Regions from separate parts of the Homo sapiens genome. Here regions 2, 3, 4, 5, 6 and 7 are each linked to region 1. Evidence: promoter capture Hi-C in 16 types of primary human blood cells and fetal thymus (Javierre and others, 2016). All regions are on one chromosome and are shown on one strand. Each heading gives the region's core, a stretch centred on a gene start or on the middle of the fragment in contact. The rest is flanking DNA. Distances are from core to core; before and after follow the strand shown.

Evidence for each region. Contacts are between HindIII fragments. The CHiCAGO score rates a contact against its expected background, and 5 or more counts as called.
Region 2: a fragment that was not itself captured here is called in contact with the fragment with the promoter of TLE1 in region 1 in 1 of 17 cell types (total B cells); the score reaches 5.1 in total B cells.
Region 3: a contact is called between a fragment that was not itself captured here and the fragment with the promoter of TLE1 in region 1, in 2 of 17 cell types (M1 macrophages and M2 macrophages). The highest score is 5.3, in M1 macrophages.
Region 4: a contact is called between a fragment that was not itself captured here and the fragment with the promoter of TLE1 in region 1, in 1 of 17 cell types (fetal thymus). The highest score is 6.0, in fetal thymus.
Region 5: a fragment that was not itself captured here is called in contact with the fragment with the promoter of TLE1 in region 1 in 1 of 17 cell types (monocytes); the score reaches 7.5 in monocytes.
Region 6: a contact is called between a fragment that was not itself captured here and the fragment with the promoter of TLE1 in region 1, in 1 of 17 cell types (monocytes). The highest score is 8.5, in monocytes.
Region 7: a fragment that was not itself captured here is called in contact with the fragment with the promoter of TLE1 in region 1 in 2 of 17 cell types (monocytes and fetal thymus); the score reaches 18.3 in monocytes.

Annotation. Positions count from the first base shown.
Region 1 is chr9:81,688,246-81,690,889 of GRCh38, forward strand. TLE1 (TLE family member 1, transcriptional corepressor) reads right to left here and starts at 1,302. Exons shown (of 20, transcript NM_005077.5): 1 at 1-1,302. It overlaps TLE1-DT (TLE1 divergent transcript), which reads left to right and starts at 1,468. Exons shown (of 4, transcript NR_109772.1): 1 at 1,468-1,714. RefSeq lists an enhancer at 613-1,327 and silencers at 1,200-1,549, 1,700-1,849. The HindIII fragment of the contact is 8,493 bases long and covers 1-2,644 here.
Region 2 is chr9:82,608,652-82,611,295 of GRCh38, forward strand. All of the region lies in intron 2 of LOC107987087 (a long non-coding RNA gene), which reads left to right. Among named protein-coding and RNA genes, the nearest start is that of RASEF, 450 kb to the right of the region's middle. The HindIII fragment of the contact is 300 bases long and covers 1,190-1,489 here.
Region 3 is chr9:82,569,830-82,572,473 of GRCh38, forward strand. All of the region lies in intron 2 of LOC107987087 (a long non-coding RNA gene), which reads left to right. The region is part of intron 1 of LOC105376110 (a long non-coding RNA gene); the gene reads right to left. Among named protein-coding and RNA genes, the nearest start is that of RASEF, 490 kb to the right of the region's middle. The HindIII fragment of the contact is 554 bases long and covers 1,044-1,597 here.
Region 4 is chr9:80,988,999-80,991,642 of GRCh38, forward strand. No RefSeq gene overlaps it. Among named protein-coding and RNA genes, the nearest start is that of TLE1, 700 kb to the right of the region's middle. The HindIII fragment of the contact is 2,625 bases long and covers 2-2,626 here.
Region 5 is chr9:81,077,429-81,080,072 of GRCh38, forward strand. No RefSeq gene overlaps it. Among named protein-coding and RNA genes, the nearest start is that of TLE1, 610 kb to the right of the region's middle. The HindIII fragment of the contact is 6,440 bases long and covers 1-2,644 here.
Region 6 is chr9:81,093,701-81,096,344 of GRCh38, forward strand. No RefSeq gene overlaps it. Among named protein-coding and RNA genes, the nearest start is that of TLE1, 590 kb to the right of the region's middle. The HindIII fragment of the contact is 984 bases long and covers 830-1,813 here.
Region 7 is chr9:81,116,012-81,118,655 of GRCh38, forward strand. No RefSeq gene overlaps it. Among named protein-coding and RNA genes, the nearest start is that of TLE1, 570 kb to the right of the region's middle. The HindIII fragment of the contact is 7,791 bases long and covers 1-2,644 here.

The DNA.
Region 1 (2,644 bases), core at 52-2,551:
TGGCGGCGGCCGGGGCTCTGTTCCCCGGCAACTCAATTCTCCGGTCAATTTCCAACTTTAATCCCGCCGAGGAAAATTAAGCCGGAAAGCCAAGCAGAAGCGGGGAGCGCGCTGGCCACGCACGCGCGCTCCGCCGGGCGCACCGGCCACTCGGCGCCCGCAGCTGCTCCGGCTCCCGCTCCCGTCGGTGCGGGCTCCGGCCCTCAGGGCCACATTAGTGGGCGCCCCAGGCCCAGCTGCTTCAAGAACCTGCGCGGAGACGTCGGGCGCTCGGGGACTGTGCGCGGGGGCAGCGCTCCAACCCCCGGCCTCAGCTGCCCGGGCGGGGAGGCGGGGGCGCGGTGACTCCGACCGCACTCCCCTCGGCGATCCGCGTGCGCGGCGCCAGTCCTGGGCAAACAAATCCAGACGGACTGCTTTTCTTTGCTCTTCTCCTGGTCCGCCTCCTCTTCGGGCTTTCCCCGAGGCGGCGGCGGGCGAGGTGCAGGTGGCGCGGCGGCCCCCGCTAACCCCACACAAACCCGACGCTTTCGGGGCGACTCCCGCAAGATTCGGCTGCGCCTTCGGCCGGGTGCTCGCAGGCTCCCGGGACGCAAAGGGGAGCGAGGTTGAAGACGCAGCGGAGGCTCCTGGCCGGGGAGCGACGGATGACGAGGCGGGGAAAGTGCGGAGGGCGCGCCGGGAGGCGGCTCGGCACGCCCCGTGCGACCAGCACTCGGTGTTCTCCGCGGTTGCACAAACCCTCCGGGCCCGACGGGGCTACTCCACCGAGAGCAGTCCCGCAAGTGCCCAATGCTCCTCGAGCCCGGGGAGCATCAGGGCGCCGCGCCTCGGGCGCACTCGCCCTGCACGGCCGGACCGGCCGCTCCGGACCCTTCTTCCGAGCTCCTTCTTCCTCGGTCTTCTTTCTTTCCTTCCTTCACCTTCGTGTGCTTCTCCGCAAAGGGCGCTCCAGCCCACTGCAAAGTTCTCTCACCACCCGAGGGACGACATCCACGAGATGGTGGGGAAAACAGCAGGAGTGCGCTCCGCCAATCGGCCACCCTCCCCGGCGGGCAAACTCTGCGGGCGAGTCCAGAGTAGTCACAGCGGTGGGGCCAGCGGGGGTTTTGGTCGCCGCGGGACGACGGAGGTCCGGGCTGGTGGCGCGGGTCCCGCCCGGCCGTGCGAGGGTGGGGTGGCGCAGTCGGCTGCCTCCGGGACGCGGGGCACAGAGTACCCGCCGCTGTTTCTGCTGCTGCTGCTTCTGCAGCCGCCGCTCCCACCGCCGCCGCCGCCCGCGCCTCTCGCGCCGCTTACATTAACACGCGGTTTCACACTCCGGAGCTAACCAGCGCCGGCCCCGCCCAGCCCCGTTCGGGCGGGGGGCGCGAGCGCGGAGCCGGCGGGGGACGTGAGCCCGGGAGGTTGGGGGGTGGGGGGGGGGCAGAAGGCCCGCATCAGCCAATCGCGTGCGCTGCAACCAACGTGGGGCGCTGACGCGCTCCTCCCCGGAGCGTATGGCAGCGCAGCGCCGGACGGGGCGTTCTCCCTCCCCCCCTCCTCTCGCTTCCATCTCCGCCGTCTCCTCGGTCTCCCTTCCCATCCCGGCCCCTCCTCCGCCAGCCGCGTCCTCCCGGGCTTGGTGAGGAACTGTTCCTGGAGGAGCCGCGGGACGCCAAAACCAGCCAATGGGAAGCGGCGATTCGCGGAGATTGGCACTGATGATGGGAAGGTCGGTGGGAAGGAGAGCGGCGGGGCTGGGCTGTCAATCAAAGTAACGTGGGGCTGGCTAGAGAGCGCGCGGGCGCGCGCTAGCGGGAGGGACTGGCGAGCGTGCAGCCGGGGAAGCTGAGGGCTCGAGTTAGCAAAAATCCTGCCACTTGCTCACTTTTCCCTTTAATGAAAATCCTCAGATCTAAGTGAAAGTAACTCAAAGACTAGCTGCGGAGTTTCTTATTGGAGGCGGAGGGGGGCTTTTGGTAATTCGAGCAAATGTGTTTTTCAGTGCTGGACCCCTTGTTTGATGCTACTCTAAAAGTGAGGCCACATTCAAAAATTTATCTGAGGTTTGTTTTTCCTTGAGCTGCCTTTTTACGGATGTACGAGAGGGAGTGGACTGTGCACTTAGTTGGAAATGCGTAAATGAGCAACGCCACGGTTGGCGTAGGTACACCAGCAAAGACGACTGTGATGTCCTCCCACCCCACCCACCCCCTTTGCACCCAAAGTGGTAGGATTTGATTTTTATTGCAGGATTTCAAGCCACTTTTCAAAAAGATCGTCCTGTCCCGTTTGGCGGGAAGGATTCCCAGGGTGCTGCCAGAACAAGGCACGCGTGTCCGCAGATGAGACGTTTTGCCCGGGGCGCGAAATCCCAGGTCTTCGTCTTAAAAGTCCTGACTTCGCTGTGTTGGGAGAGGTGGGGAGCGGCTGAGGTTTTTAGGAACTTCTCAGCTACAAGACTACGAGTCTGTTTCCAATTCCTGGGAACAAAGAGAGACAATGTAATAAACCAGCACTGAGACCTGAAAAACCTGTCCCGCACACCCCACCCCCACAGTCTGGGTGGTACTCCTGAGCTGAGCTGTGTGAAGAGCTAAATGGGAAGAGTTAGGTAAATGACGTGGCTAAGGTTCTTATGAAGTGGAACTTGAGTTAAAAG
Region 2 (2,644 bases), core at 90-2,589, 920 kb after region 1:
GCAGCCACACCCGTTCATTTACATATTACTTCTAGCTATTTTCCTGCTATAACAGTAGGATTTATGATCTGGTTCCTACCCCTTCTTGACCCCTGCTGGAAACCATTCTCTTTTTTGGTCCTGATGTGTAAACTAAGTTAATCATCTGCAGGAGCACTTGGAGGGCTGAGAGAGGAAAGAGAGGAGTAGATTAAGAGGGAAGGGTTGCTACCTGTATTAGTTTCCTATTGCTACTGTTCTAAATTGTTACAAACTTAGTGGCTTAAAACAACACATATTTACTACAATATAGCCCTATATATCAAGCCATCAGCAATGCTGCATTTCTTCAGGAGGTTCTAGGGGAAAATCCATTTCCTTGCCTTTTCCAACTCCTAGAGGCTGCCCACATTGCTTGGCTCATGGTCTTTTCCTCCATCTTCAAAGTCAGCATGGTAACATCTCTCTGACTCTTCATCTGTTGTCATATCTCTCTCTGACCACATCTGTGAAAACTACCTTTAAGGGCTCGTGATTAAATTAGACCCAGCTAGATAATCCAGGGAAATCTCCTCATCTCAAGATTCTTAGCTTAATCACTTTTTCCATGTAAGATAACATATTCACAGGTGCTGAGGATTAAGGTGTGGATATCTTTGGGGATTCTGCCTACCACACTACCTCAAAGCATATTCTTCAAAACAACAATTTTCCAATCATTTCTCTTTTGTAATATGTTGACACAGCAGTCTTGATGATGAAAAGATGTTAGATGAAGTCATATGATGGAAAGACCATGAAACATGTAGAGAAGGTAGTCAAAGGTTGACCTTTCTGTATTTCCCTGACTAAACAAGGGAAGTATAAGATGTACAAGGATACCTTGTACATCCGTGCAAGTAGACACCGCATAACTCTAGGAATGCCTTGAAGCCGCTCAGGGCACAAACTTTAAAACCATAGATGGAAGCTCTGTCCTTTCCATCCCAGCTGCCTGATCCTGGGATCAGAATTTGTCTACCCCTCTAGCTATTGATCATGATTAAATTGAATTCTTTAGAAATATTCTCATTAGCTCACACTGTATATAAAGTAATTTGCTCACTTTCATCATGCTGCAAAAAAAAAAAAAAAAAAAAATCAACCTGAAAAAAAAAAGTAGGGAAACATATATTACTAGGCATGGAATGAGACTACTTGAGTAGCAAGAAGCTTAAAAACACTCCAGTCACCCAACCTTGGGCTGGTACACAGTGTCCTTACCACAATAAGATCAAGCAACCCAGAAACCAAGACTCCAAGAGGGAGAGAAAATGTCTACCTTTGGCCCTGGGGCAAGAAAGCAGGAATAGGAATAAAGAGAAGAGGAAGGTGCCTTCACAGAAATACTTCTCAGTTGCACCTGTAGCCTCACAAGAAAGGTTTCAAATATGAATCCCTGGCAACTGCCTTCTAGGCTGTTAAGTTTAATCCTTCACATTTTGAGTATGTCATGGTACTCCGTAAAAAAAGCTTATTGCATAAGCCGTTGTGACTCTCCTGAGCTCATTCTCTTCAACAATGGCAGCAATATAGTAACAGATAAGTGACCAAGAAAGTATATGTGACCCAGCCATTGTATAAGATTTCATTTTGCTAAAGGTCAAGATAAATTATCATGAAATCCTTGGATATACTGTTACATGGTTCCTGGGGACAAAAGGTTTCCTTTCAGAAGAGCTTCTCAGAAGCAAAGTGTGCTGTGTTTCAATCCTCAGCTAACTTTTAGTTAATGACTCTTGCCTTTTCTCCTACCAGCTCTGCTTATTAAAAGGAGAATGCAATCTGGAGTGTGTGCTGTCAGAATGAACAGCAGGGTCAGTCACTAATCCCAAATTGTATGTCCCAGGATGCCTGCTACAGAATAGGGAAATGCTTACATTTGATTAACCTTCCAGGTAGAGAAATGGAGGCAGCTAGGGGTCTGCAGCTACATGACATGGTATAATAGTCATTTTAAAATATGGCATTCCTGGGGAGATGCAAGAAAAGTCACAGCATGAGGTGCTGACTTAGTATAGCGAATGAAGATTGTGTCTACACAATAGTGAGCAAGCCTTTGGGGGAAGAACATCACCAACCTGGGCATTCATTTTCTTCGAAATATTTGTAACAATATGATAATCCCTTACATCTATATGGTGCTTTATGGAGAGCATAATGCTTCAAGGGCATCACCCCATTTGATCTTCACCACTGTCTTTTGTGTCAAAGAGTTAGAATCCAGGAGTGCATTCCCCATTAAAAAAAAAAAATCATGCTTAACTGTCGATGCACTTTTTTTTTTTCCAAGGCCTTTTCTTTAACAATTTCTTTAGGTATAAACAATGAAGAGGGAAGAAACATCATTGGATGGGGAGCGGGGAAGTTGGAGTAGTTCGAGAGTAGACAAAATCATACAAGGTTTGGAAAGACATCTCCTGAAAACGTTTCTCTCAGGCAGGAATGCTCACGGGTCAAAGAAAGCACAAGGTCACTTTTATTTCTGAGGCACCAGGAACAATAAGAACAAAAGAGTCTACATGTTGTCTTTCCTAGTAGACAATGAGTTCCAGGTGGGCAAAGGTGCAGTAAAACACCTAGCACTTTTGTAGATACTCAAATAATGTTTGCCGACCAAATGGAT
Region 3 (2,644 bases), core at 71-2,570, 880 kb after region 1:
AGGGCCATGGATGAAGCTGGAAACCATCATTCTCAGCAAACTATCGCAAGAACAAAAAACCAAACACCGCATGTTCTCACTCATAGGTGGGAATTGAACAATGAGAACACTTGGACACAGGAAGGGGAACATCACACACCGGGGCCTGTTGTGGTGTGGGGGAAGTGGGGACGGAAAGCATTAGGAGGTATACCTAATGTAAATGAGGAGTTAATGGGTGCAGCACACCAACATGGCACATGTATACATAGGTAACAAACCTGCACATTGTGCGCATGTACCCTAGAACTTAAAGTATATTAAAAAAAAAAAGACTGTGTGCCTTGCTTAGGGAGTTCAAATCACTAACCCTACAAATCATGTGTAGAGAAAAAAAGAAGGTGGTTTGCCCTCAGGATTTCCATCAGGACCAGTTCTCCAGAGATCAATGCCAAGTGAGGAAGAGAAGGAGCTTGGAGACCCTGGTAGTTCCTTCTACTCTGGATTATTCTGATTTCCAGGGTGACATAGGTACAGCAAAGTAGATGATGGTTGAGAAACAGCTGCAGTCCAAGAACAGTCATTTTCCAACAGATGTGCCAAAGGGGAGGGCACCCTCTGGAGGCTCCCAGCTGGAAAGCCAGCATCTTGGCCATAGCCTTTTTCAAGGGGTGAGCATATCTGGTAGTGGCTTTAGCTTAAGAGCTTTGGCAGTTCCTGGCAAAGGGAGCAACTGGTATAGAACAACTAGGTCATACATTTGCCACACTCTATATGGTTTAGGAGCCATTGGCTTGCCATCTGTACAGGCATCTTTACCCTCTTGTGAATGGGGAACAGGAAGCTCTAGACAGTAACTTCACACCTTAAGAGCAACCCCACCATCTGAAACTTCTATAGTCCTATGTTCCCCACTTTATAATAGATGATTCTGTTCCTTGATCCAACTGGTAGATTAGTTATTCTCCTGTCAAAATATTTGCTGCACTTGCCTTCGGGGCACATCTTACAAATAAGGTGTTTGTCAGAATCTCTAACAGGACAAGAAGGGGGAGATACAACTAAGCTTCCAATAAATGGTTTTGTGACAACTGACTGCTATTGTACCCACTTGATTATAAATGTGTTTTGTAAGTATGGCAGAATTTATTCTTAGGACTTGATTTCATGAATAAATACAATCTGTGAGAAAACAATAGCCCACATATTAATAGCCTTCAGAAGCTACTGGTATATACCAAAATAACTTAAAAAATTGAATGGGCAAACTGGCTTAGATCTGGTCTGCAATATGTGCTTCACCACCACCATTTTTTAACCTAAAATACCAGCTCTTCAGCTTACTAGTTCTATAACCATGAACAAGTCATTTAGCTCTATCTGAACTCATTTGTAAATTCATTCATTTATCTTTTTAGCTTTTCTTCATTCGCTCTGTATTGAGATTCTATGTGCTAGCAACTGAATTTGGTGTTATAGAAGGACTAATATCTACTTCAAAGAGTAATTCCAAATATTAAGATAATTTATAAAATCTCCTAGCACAGAGGATTAGTTAATAACTTTCTCCTGTATATGAATTTGGAAACAAAACATGCTGGAGGGTAAGGCAAAGAAAAGCTTTTTTTGGGATTTGGTCCATCTAGGTGCATTATTACTAAAGACTTTAGAGGTGTAATTTTTCCCTAAACAATAAAATGTAGGTATTAGTCTAATTGCCCAAAGGCTAAGTAAAATGAAGTTGAAGATCAGCATTCACCCATGGGCAAATATTTTCTTTTTTGCTTTGGAATCCAGTCCATGATATAAGCCATATTCAGATACAGCCTAAGGATAAGGAAAGCCACCCTTTAAAGAGCATGCTGAGAGGTGCCCTAACTGCAGGTGAACAGCAGGGTTTCCTTGGAAGCATCTCCAAAGCAATCCTGAGTGACTGTGCACACAGTGCACTCTGTGCACACCCTGCTCTGCAAAGGATCCCCTCCCTGCTTCCTCCCAGTCTCTCTAGTAGGTAGTTCAGTTTATACCACATGAATGGTTGAAAAGTACTGTTCAGTTACCTGAAGAAATTTTTTACTTATGTACACTTCTACTCTGAAAACTTAGAGTGGAACTGGAATGAAAATTTTCAAAATATCAAGAAGTATGTGGATATCCTAAAGCCACAATGAAAAGCCAAAAAAATTCATACAAGTTGCTTTGCTTGGTGAATCAGTGGGGGCTAATTAAATGTCCTGTTGATAATGGGAGATGTGGTGTGTTTTATAAGGGCTAAATAATCCTTCAGTGAGGCAAAGTGATGGTTTCTCTCATAGCAAGCTGCTGACTAATGTGAGGTAGGTGAACTCTTTGGAAGCGCCTTGAGCAAATGCACCTGGTACCCAAGCAAGGAGCCATTTATTAAAAAGCAGCCTGGGCGCCCCAGTGAAGGAAGAAAAGTTTAGGGCAACTGTGCATTGTACCTACTTTGCTTCCCCAAGAGTCAGACCTGGCAGCATTGTTGAAATTAGGAAGTATCAGATAATTTTGTATTGTAATCAGTTTCTACATAATCTTGCACAATGCAAAAGTAGAGACAATCTTCTTTAAGCTACAAGCTTTGTATTCTTCTTTGACCTCATATTGAAACTCCAGAAATCCACCCTTCATTCTGCTTTTTATCTCA
Region 4 (2,644 bases), core at 64-2,563, 700 kb before region 1:
AAGCTTTGTATACTTGTACTGAGCCCAAAGCTGTATTAATTTGGCTGTCATTTAAATATATTTTTCTCTTATCATTTTCCATTTCCATTTCATCAATGTGCATTTGCAAAAGAAAGGTTTCATAGTAAAGAATATTTATCTGTTATACGCCAAATTCAGAAAAAAAAACACATAATAAAAATTTTCCAAGATTGGTGTAACTTTTGTGTGAGCCCTTTGCCCTACTTCTTTCTTACTAAAATACACACATGAATTTGGAGGTGGAGTAACATAGGAAAAAGTGAAAGAACTGACTTAAAAGTTGGGGTCCCTGTACATTTTTTGAGCACCACTTCCACCCTGGGCTATCCTCCCAGAATTCTTGCAATGTGAAATCAATCACCTCATGTGTTGGTGCTGCTTAAGGTTTTCTGTGTCTTGCAGTGGAATGAATTTCTAAGTAATATGTCATGCATCCAGTGCTCCTTCCTCTTAGGTTTTTATACAAGAAGGTTGGGACTGAGAGCTGAGGACAGAACTCTGGAAATGTGATCAGTAAAACAACTGGGAATCAAAAATTCCTTCTCCCTTCTTGTTAGGTATATCATATAATTGTCTTGGTGGTTGTTTTCTTGTTGGTATATACCATCCCTCTTTTCCTAGAGCCCTTAATTATCCTCTGCTTCTGCCATTAGTACTTTGATAACACCTAATCAAAGAATATGCCTCACACCATGGAGAAGTCCATGCAAAAGCACCATTTCCTGAAAACCATCGATTCATTGCCCCAACTAACACTTAGACATCTCACATCACTTTCTACAAGATTATTAGTCTAGCCACTCAGGCTACTCTCCACTTAGGGTAGAAGAAACTATTATTATGTTTTTCTTTTAACATTCAGGGCCTCACACTTGTCTCAGATTTCATTCCAATAGACCTTAAACTTGGTCTTACTAATCTTTAAACAATAAAGACTGTAGGCACCCCAAGCATATACACAAACAAACACACACTCATACACATACAAATGTGTATATACATCTATTTCAAGAATAATCTATAGATTTTAATGGCCATTCTGTATGATTTTTGTAGGCTTACACAACTTTGATTACTAGATACTTCAACATGGATATTATGATCCTACTTCTTAAAAACAATTTCAGCTGTTTTCTGCCAAACATCGTATGTTCTCACTCATAAGTGGGAGCTAAGCTATGAGGATGCAAAGGCATAAGAATGATACAGCGGACTTTGGGGACTTGGGGGAAAGAGTGGGAGGGGGTGAGGAATAAAATACTACACGTTGGGTACACTTTCCACTGCTCAGGTGATGGGTGCACCAAAATCTCAGAAATCACCACTAAAGAACTTATTCATGTAACCAGGCTGGACGTGGTAGCTCATGCCTGGAGGCTGAGGCAGACGGATTACTTGAGGTCAGGAGTTCGAGACCAGCCTGGTCAATATGGTGAAACTCTGTCTCTACCAAAAAATACAAAAATTAGCTGGATGTGGTGGTGTGTGCCTGTAATCCCAGCTACTAAGGAGGCTGAGGCAGGAAAATCGCTTGAACCCAGGAGGCAGAAGTTGCAGTGAGCTGAGATTGCACCACTGTACTCCAGCCTGGGCAACAGAGTGAGTGAGACTTTGTCTCAAAAAAAAAAAAAAAAAACCAAACAGATCTTATTCACGTAACCAAACATGACCTGTTCTCCAAAAACCTATTGAAATACAAAAAGAGTTTAAAAAAATGTTTTTCAGCTGTTTTCTTACACAAGCAAACTTTATAATAATCAAAATAAAATGTAATTCAAATGAAGTTGTAAACACTTTAAACCTATCAAACAATTAGGAAAGGTAGACATTATTATAGTATAGGCTGCTTTCTTGTTGTGTCCTCAAATGGCAGAAAGAGAGAGACAGAGTGGACAAAAGCAGATGTATTTCTTTTTATAATATCTTGAATAAGTTGTATAGATTTTTAAAAACTAAACTATTTTGAGATAATTGTTGCTTCACTTGAAGTTGAATACCAAAAGATCCATATACTTTTTACTCAGTTTCCCCTAATGGTAACATCTTGAGAAATTATAGCACAATATCACAGTAGGATATTGACATCGATACGTTGAAAACACAGCACATTCTCCATCACTCCAGGATGGATCTCTGAGGATTCAGTGAAGTTGTTCCTTGTATCAATACTTTGGGGTTTTTTTTTAATGCTCAGAAATTTTTTATGGTATAGATGTACCGCAGTTTATTTAACCATTCACCTATTGAAAGACATCCTGGTTATTTCCAGGTTGGGGCTATTATGTAAAAAACTGCTATAATTATAGCGGTTGACTATAATCATCTGTATTATAGTCAGTTTGAACTGCCCTAACAAAATACCATAGACTAGGTGGCTTATACAACAAAAATTTACTTCCTCACAGGTCTGGAGGGTGGATGACCAAGATTAGGGTGAGTTCTGGTTGGGGCTCTCTTCCTGGCTTGTAGATGGCTGCTTTCTTGTTGTGTCCTCAAATGGCAGAAAGAGAGAGACAGAGAGAGAGAAAAAGAAAGAAAGAGAGATTGTCCTCCTCTTATAAAGCCACAGTCCTATATTAGAGGCCCACCCTTATGGCCTCATTTAAGCTTAATTGCCTCCTAA
Region 5 (2,644 bases), core at 107-2,606, 610 kb before region 1:
CAAAGACAAGGAAGGTTTCACATTTTGGAATCATTAGACACTGTCTCAAAGAAAAGGTTTTTGGTATTGCAGGGCACCAAAAAAGACTATAAGGCTCACCAATTAACCATTGGCAATTACCAGCATCCATGAAGGGACAGCTTCAAGGATCATCAAGTAAGGAAGAAACCTGGACATAGTTAATCCACAGAACAACTAAATGGTTTTTGTGGTGCCTGGATCCACCAGGAGGAGGCTATTAGCTTGGCCCAAAGCTAGCAGATATATTACATGTTTACCTGTAAACATCCTTCAGTTTCAGGCCAGTTTCAAGATTGCTAAGCTCATTTCTACATGCACATGGCCTTTCTTTACTCTGAAACTGAAATGAAGATCCATTGGTTTAACCCTAGCCCCAAGACACCATCAAAGATGAACAGAAACTCTGGGTTGATTTCACATTTGGGACAGAATCTAAAACATCTCTCTATGCTTACTGATTAAGAACCATGTAAGAATCTGATTAAACATGTGTTCCAGCCCTTAGAAAAATACATATGATGAATAATCGGCATATAATTTCACAATGTATTAATGTACCCCTTGAAGCCCTTACATTAACCAAACATAATCATAGCTACAATTGTGGGAAGACATTTTCTATATGCTGGACATTGTGTTAACACTTTAGAGAGAGCTCACACTATCTGGCTTGGCCTCTTCAGCCCTTCTGAGAAGACTCATGAAATTAATAACTCCAGGCCACTTATCTTGAGGAAGTTACGTGAAATTGTTCTTGTGACAAGCTGCTCAAGCATAAATAAGCATCTGCAAGTAGGAGTGCTTGCCATTGTAACTTTAATTTAGGGCTTCTATTTTAAATTACTGATTGTTTGCATTGCTCCCAGCATCTTAGTATATATAACATATTTCTCTTTATAGGAAGTCAAACAGGCCTGTTCACTGAATCTCAGTAAAAGCTGCTCTGGAGAAAGACTGGCTATCTGTATTTCTCCCAAGGTTCCCTAAAGTGATTTTTGCAGCTACCTTATAATGTAGGGTTTTTTTTTTAACCATACCAAGCATATTCCTCCAGTCACTTTTTGGAATAAGCGGCACAAAAACTTTTAGGTTTATTTGTATCGTTCGATTCCTTATAGCATTGGAAGGAGGTATCATTATTCCTACTTGATATAGTGGAAAACTAAGTCCCAGAAAGGATGAATAACTTGCCTTGTCCACATACCTAGTAAGTGGTAAAGCAGGGTTTTTAGAATCCAATTTGGTTTGACTTCAACAGCCAAGTTCTCAGCTGTTGTGGTCTGCTGCTGTAGACTTCAGAATAAGAGCCATTGCTAAAAACACTGGTGTATTACAAAATTGATGAGCCATCATTTTACTTTAACTCAAATCGAATAAACAATAAAAAGTTAAACTTAAATGTATGATAAAACACTCAAGTTATCTCTGGCTGAGAAACAAGTTTAGACATTTCATTGCGTAAATCCTATCCTATCCACTGCCAAGAGCATCTTCCTTCCTGCAATCTCCACCTAGTCAACCAGTCCTACTTATTGGAAGACTTTGTGATTACCCATAGTAAGCACAATAGAAAAGACAGACACAAGGAGACTCTGACCCCTGGCTTCTTAAATCTATATTTTTGCACAGTGTCCATGCTATTTTTCAGAATAAATATGAGCTATGAAAATACTTCCCCCTAGCAAACAGGAAACAATGAGCTACATGGAAACCTAGTGAGCTAAACTTGAGTAGCATGTTTAGGTAAAGAATTTACACAGAAAAATAATTGGGGAAATGGAGATTGCATTACAGGAGCAACTGCTGAAAAGCAGAAGAGAAGCATTGGAGTAAATGTCACTGAGTGGTAGCAGATGATGAAGAACTTGGGGAAAGTTGAAATCTTCAGGAGCAGCAGCAGAATTGTCAGGACAAATCTGAGGAACTAAAGCAAGATACGGAAATCTGCGAAAGAATAAAGGGCAAGAGAGCAAGGAGGAAAAGAAAAAGTGCAGGACCTCCTGATGTTCTAGACTCACCTGCACCATGGGTCATGGTAGGGGAAAGGAGAAACAAGAGAAGGCCTTTGACAGAACATTTCCCTGAAAAGATCTCTCCCAAGGAGAAACAAGTAGCCACTTGACTATAGATGAAGGTGTGAGTAGGGAGTGAGCTCCAGAATGTTCTTTCTCAAATACCTGCCTGCTAATTCATTAATGCTACTTTCTGATCCATGTATAGATGTTGGACATGGAATTCTAGAAAGAACTCCATAACAAGGATTCAGGAAAAAACAGAAAGAACTCTAATTTTTTCCATTGGAGATACTGATATCTGAGCATTCTTTCATTTTGTCACCCTTTTTAAAAAAGAGAAAACATTATTAAAAGGCATATTGTAGCATAGTACAATATACTTACCATTCTAGTGAAAGCAGCGAGCAAGTTCAGGCAATGCCGAAGGAATAAATGTGAAATTAAATTGCTGAAAGAGAAGAGAAACTCAATGATCTACTGTATGCTCTAAGAACAGAGAAGAACTACATCTAGCAAAAGGCTCAACTTTCTTCCAGTATAAACTATGGGAGAACCAGAGTATCTTCCATGGGCATACATATGCAGAACAATATTGGAAAGTTAGAAAA
Region 6 (2,644 bases), core at 72-2,571, 590 kb before region 1:
ACTAATATGTTAAAAATAATAGAGAAAACATGAGGAACAAATGAAAAGATAAAAATAAAGCTAACGAGAAAAGGCTAAAGAAAAAAACTTAAATATAAGAAAAAGCAAGCAAAATGAAGGAGAAATTAAGGGGCTCAGACATACAATTAATAGAAACTCTAGCAAAGGAATATAAAGTAAATGACCGAGAAGTCATACTGAAAAGACAAAAATTTAGGATTACCCAATTTGAACAAAAATGTTTTCAGATTAATAGTCTGACAACAAAAAATAATAATAAATATAATTCTATATCTAGATATTTTGTATCATAAACATGAAGAATAAAGAGAAAAATTTTAAAAGCTACTAGGGAAAATGCATTTTGTTAATGAAGAATTGACAAACTAACAGTAGTAAGAGATGTCTGAAATCAATGAAGCCATTGTTTCTAAGTGCAGAGAAAAAAATGACAGCTTGAAATTTTATTCTTAGGTACAGTTTTATTTATGAATAAATACACAATAAAGAGATTTTAAGATACTCAAAAACTAAGATTTAGTAAGTAGAAACATGAATCAAAGATTATCCTTTACAAGAAAATATTGTTCTCATATATACATAGAGCATTAAAAATTAGCATGTACAAGGTGACAAAGGATGTTTTAATAATTTTCTTTGAATGTTATGGTGAAAATGATCATCAGTCATAGGCAATTTCAATGAGAGTAAACAAGACAGTTGAAAACACTCAATATGTTTTAGAAATTAAAAATGGATTCCTAAGTGACTCATAAGTTAATGAGGAAATTACAATAAAAATTTCTAAATATTTATTTACAACCATCAAAGCTTATAAGATAAAACTGAAGCAGAGTTTATACGGAAAAAACTTCTAAATAAATACTGACATTTATTTCAAAACTTGGAAAGACAAAATTAATGAGTCATTGTTCAACTCAGTAAATTAAAAATTTAAATAAAAAACTAAATAATATAGAAAGAATAAAAAAAATTGAAAAAAGAACAGAGATTAATACAAATAGAAAACAAAAAAATGCCAAAGAATTTATATACCCAAAGCTGTTGCTCTGAAGAATGTTGTTACAAACAAAAAGCACAAATCTTTAAGAATCAACTAACAAAATCAAGTAAATGAATATCAAGTTATTTCATTTCAATAATGGCTCCATAAACAAAGTATAACTTTACTTATTGACTAGAAGCAAAAATTTGCAAAGGCCTAACTGATGAAGGCTTAGAACATTGAAAAACAAAAACTTTTGTATAAGTAAGAAACTTACTACCAATATTTGGAAGTGATTAAAGATACCATTAAGCAATTCACAGAATGGACAAAAATATGAACAAATACTTAACCTGACAGTTAGTCTGAGACATACAAGATGAAACAACTAACAGCTACCATTTCACGCACGACAATGACAAAACTTTTTTAAATATGATAAAAACCCCTCCATGAAGGCAGAAATCTTTGATTTTTTCCTTGTTGCATCTTCAGCACACAGAACAGTATTTGTTTCATGGGAACACTCAGTAAGTATTAAATGACTGGATAAAATACTCAGTACTGGTAAGCATAGGGAAAACAGACTTCTTATTTATTCTAAGTAGTCTAAAAGAATTCAATTACATTAGAGAATAATCTAGTCAAGTTGGAAGGTGTACATGCCTTTCAAGCCAGCTCTTCCACTTCTAGGTGTACACCCCCAGGTAGTCCTCCACATAGGTTAAAGATTGGTTAAATAAGTAGAACATATTCATATTATGGATGTTTTCCATATGGATGCAACAGTAAAGATTAATGAAATAAAGCTTTATGTAATAACATAGATTATCATAAGTATAGCAGTACAAATGAAATCTTTGTACGAAAGCATGCTTGGGGATTTTATTTGCCAAGTTTAGGAAAGTAATTGCCTTTGTCTGGGGCCAATAAGAGATGAGAGTGAATACAGGTCTTCTACTGTACATCATGGACATTTTTGTTGGTTAAAATATCTGTTTTTGTTTGCTTAAAGAAAAGATCTGAGTCAAAAAAAGTTAAAATTTTCTGAAGTCAAATAGGTAGAAAGGACATGAATTTTCTTTAAATTATCTTTATATTTTCTGTATGTTTGAAATATTTTATAAGCTATTTCATATAAGATAAGATAATTCATATTCTTTTATAAGATAAAAGAATAGAAAAAGATACGGAAGAACAGGATTTTGTCTGCCCCTGAGCCTGGGCAGTGTCTTTTTCAATTGGGGAGCAATGTGTGCTAAGCAAGAAGAAACTTGAAGTGATATGGGACTAAATGAGTATGGTAGTATAAGGCCCATAACCTCAGAGAGCAAGATAAGAATTGTGGTTAATAGTCTATGAAACATCCTGAGCTACCTAGATCAGTATATGAAATGCATATCCATAACAAAGATAGAGTATATAAAAAGGGTACAGGATCTGGAGAATGAATTGGGGTACCATATATTTTAAAAAGGCAAGATCTGGAAAAGGCTCATTGTGATTTCAACATAAATCTTCTGACAAATTTAAAAACTTTTCAAAAGAAGGCTAACCCTGGTAATGCTGTTCTGAAGATGAAAACAAATAAATATCATTACTACCGGCGGGGCGCGGTAGCTCATGCCTGTAATCCCA
Region 7 (2,644 bases), core at 81-2,580, 570 kb before region 1:
TTCTGTTTCTAGTCACCACCACCACCCTCCCTGGATAAAAAGTAAAAAAGAAAAATTTCTCTTACATGGAGAAACCTGTTTATCACAATGATTGTCAGCTAGCTAAGAAAAAGCACACTCCTTTCCCCACATATTAAAGAAACAAGTATTTGTGTAAATGTTACTCTGGTTGCTGTGATGAAGGGGCTGGCTGCAGTCAAGAGCACCAAAGCCGTCAGATAGAAAATATCTGCTGTGTTGCTGAAACCAGGAGCTGACCCTTGGCTCTAATGGAGTAGTTATGCGCCATGATGACAACACAGGAACACAAGACAGGCAAGTTGGAGATCAGCACAAGAAGGGTTAATGAAACGCCCTTCACCATACTGCAGGGAGTTGCATCTGCAAAACCCTCAACCTTTGCCAGTTTTATTTGCATCTAGGAGAGGGGCTCCCTGTTATGAGGAAGTCTGCCCCCAAGACCTTTTACTTGGCCTTTCTCTGTTAATTCCAGCAATATGCAATAAGACCTGCCACCAAGAGGTGGCCAGAGGTGGAACGGCCAAGTAGAAATTTCATTTCCCAACCAAGGGAACATTTCAATTTCTAGGAAATCAATTGAGCTTCTATTAAAAACAAGGACACACCTATGTGCTTTCCGCAAATAGGCTGCTTCCTGTTGGAAGGCAGAAAGCTGCCCTCCCCTGAGCCTCCAGATGAGCTCTGATTTATCCCTCCTGCACCAAGAATCATGTGAGCTGAAAGGTCAGGCAGTTAAAGATTTATGCTTTGTTTTATAAGATTGCTCAGAGAGAGACTCTTTTCCCTCTCTTGTTTATTTTTTATCCTCCTCCAGCCTGTTGTCCATTTTTTCTGCCGAAGCTAGACCATAGAAAAGGAAATGGGAAAATGCCTTGTAATATGAGCCCAAGAGCTTGCTGTCTCCCCAGATGGCAGGCTGTGTTGAACCAATGAGGGCAACCCCCGTGGCCGGCCACCACAACCCACCCAGAGAGGGGCACATGCATCAGTGCGCCTTGTAAATCTTTTTTAACCTCAGTTCTGAACTGGGATTTATTTGTTTTTCTAGGCAGATGGATCTGGCTCTCTCTGGGCCTTACAAAATGATCTGTCACTGTCTACCTTAATAACCTACAGCAGTCTGTAATAAAGTCAGCTTGCCCGGTCTAGCAAGTGGACGCCATAGCTTAGATCATATTAGGTCTTTTTTGTTTATTAGACATCTATCTTGGGCTGCCCAGGCATTGGTCTTTTCTCAAGTATACACCCCTATCTCCCACCACGGGAGAGCCATCTGAGCAAGGCATTGTAGAGGATGAAGGTTATGTGTGTTTATTACCTGCTTGCTGGGTGTGATCTTTTATGTTTATTACTGACATGGTAATATTTGGGGAAACAACCAGCCCAGACCTGATAGGTGAGAATGAGTTAAAAATCTTAAGAGCTTACACATTTTTAACCAATGTGTATCTTACCAATCTCATTTGCTTCTCGCCAAATCTGTCTCTCTTTTCCTATTTAATATAATCGTGACCCTATGAACAGAGCTAGAAACAATCAGCATGTTTTGAGTTTTCTCTGTTCCCCTTATATCAAGTCAGTCCCATTTCTTACTGATTAAGCCTGAAAAATGTCCGTGCCTCACTGCAGCCCTCCAACATGTCTCCTGGGCTTACTGTGATAACCTCAGATCTATCTTCCCCGCCAGTCTATGTCCCCCCTCTTTAATCTATGGATCCCAACACAGCATCCTGATCCAGAAATCATCAATGCCTAATCTTTTATTCAATGTAAAGTCCCAAATCCTTACAATAGCATCCCCTTCACTGGCTAGACTCATTTGCTATCCACTCCCTTCATGCTCATACCCATGAGCTTGCTCCACTCCCCGTGCACCCTCCTCAACCTTTCCAGATCTCCATACATCTACTGCAGTTTTTCTATCTAGAATTCCCATTGTCCTTCCCTTAACTCAGAAGAAACAAAAATAGCCATTTCTATAAGATCTACTTCAAAAGTCATCTTCTCCATTGAGCATTCCTCAGCACCTCCAAGAAGAGTGAATCTCTTTTTCCTGTGATGCCTCTTTATTCATTCTGCAAGGAGGCATCTATACCTCTGCATCATAGCAAGTTGCAAGCATTTCTCATTTCCCCCATGCCAGACTTAGAATTATTTGAAGTCAGAGCATGTCTTATTTGTATCTCTACCCCTAGCAATGGGCCCAGTATTTAGCCATTGAAGTTAGAATTCTCTGATAAGCTGCAAGAGCATGACAAGTTGATTAGGTCTCTGAATGTACTTGGCTTTGCAAAAGGTCACTTAAGGAGAATTATGTAGATATACCCTATAATATTTTCTAAAGGCTTATAATCTAAATCAGGTTCAGGCACTTCAGTTTAGACTGAACTTGGTCCCTCTCTATAACATCTCTTCTACCCTTGTAATGTTTAAATATTATAATAGCAAATTTTAAGTCCCAAGACTTGCAATGACCTTGTAGAGGTCAGCTGTTGCTTTTGTGGCTTCCTAGCATCCACTGCATATTCTCTTGCTGAAAGTATTCAGAGTTCTTTGGGGAACTTACTAGCTTGCTCTTTGTGTACATTCCGCTAAGGCTGTTAAGCAAGGTTCTGAGTCCTGT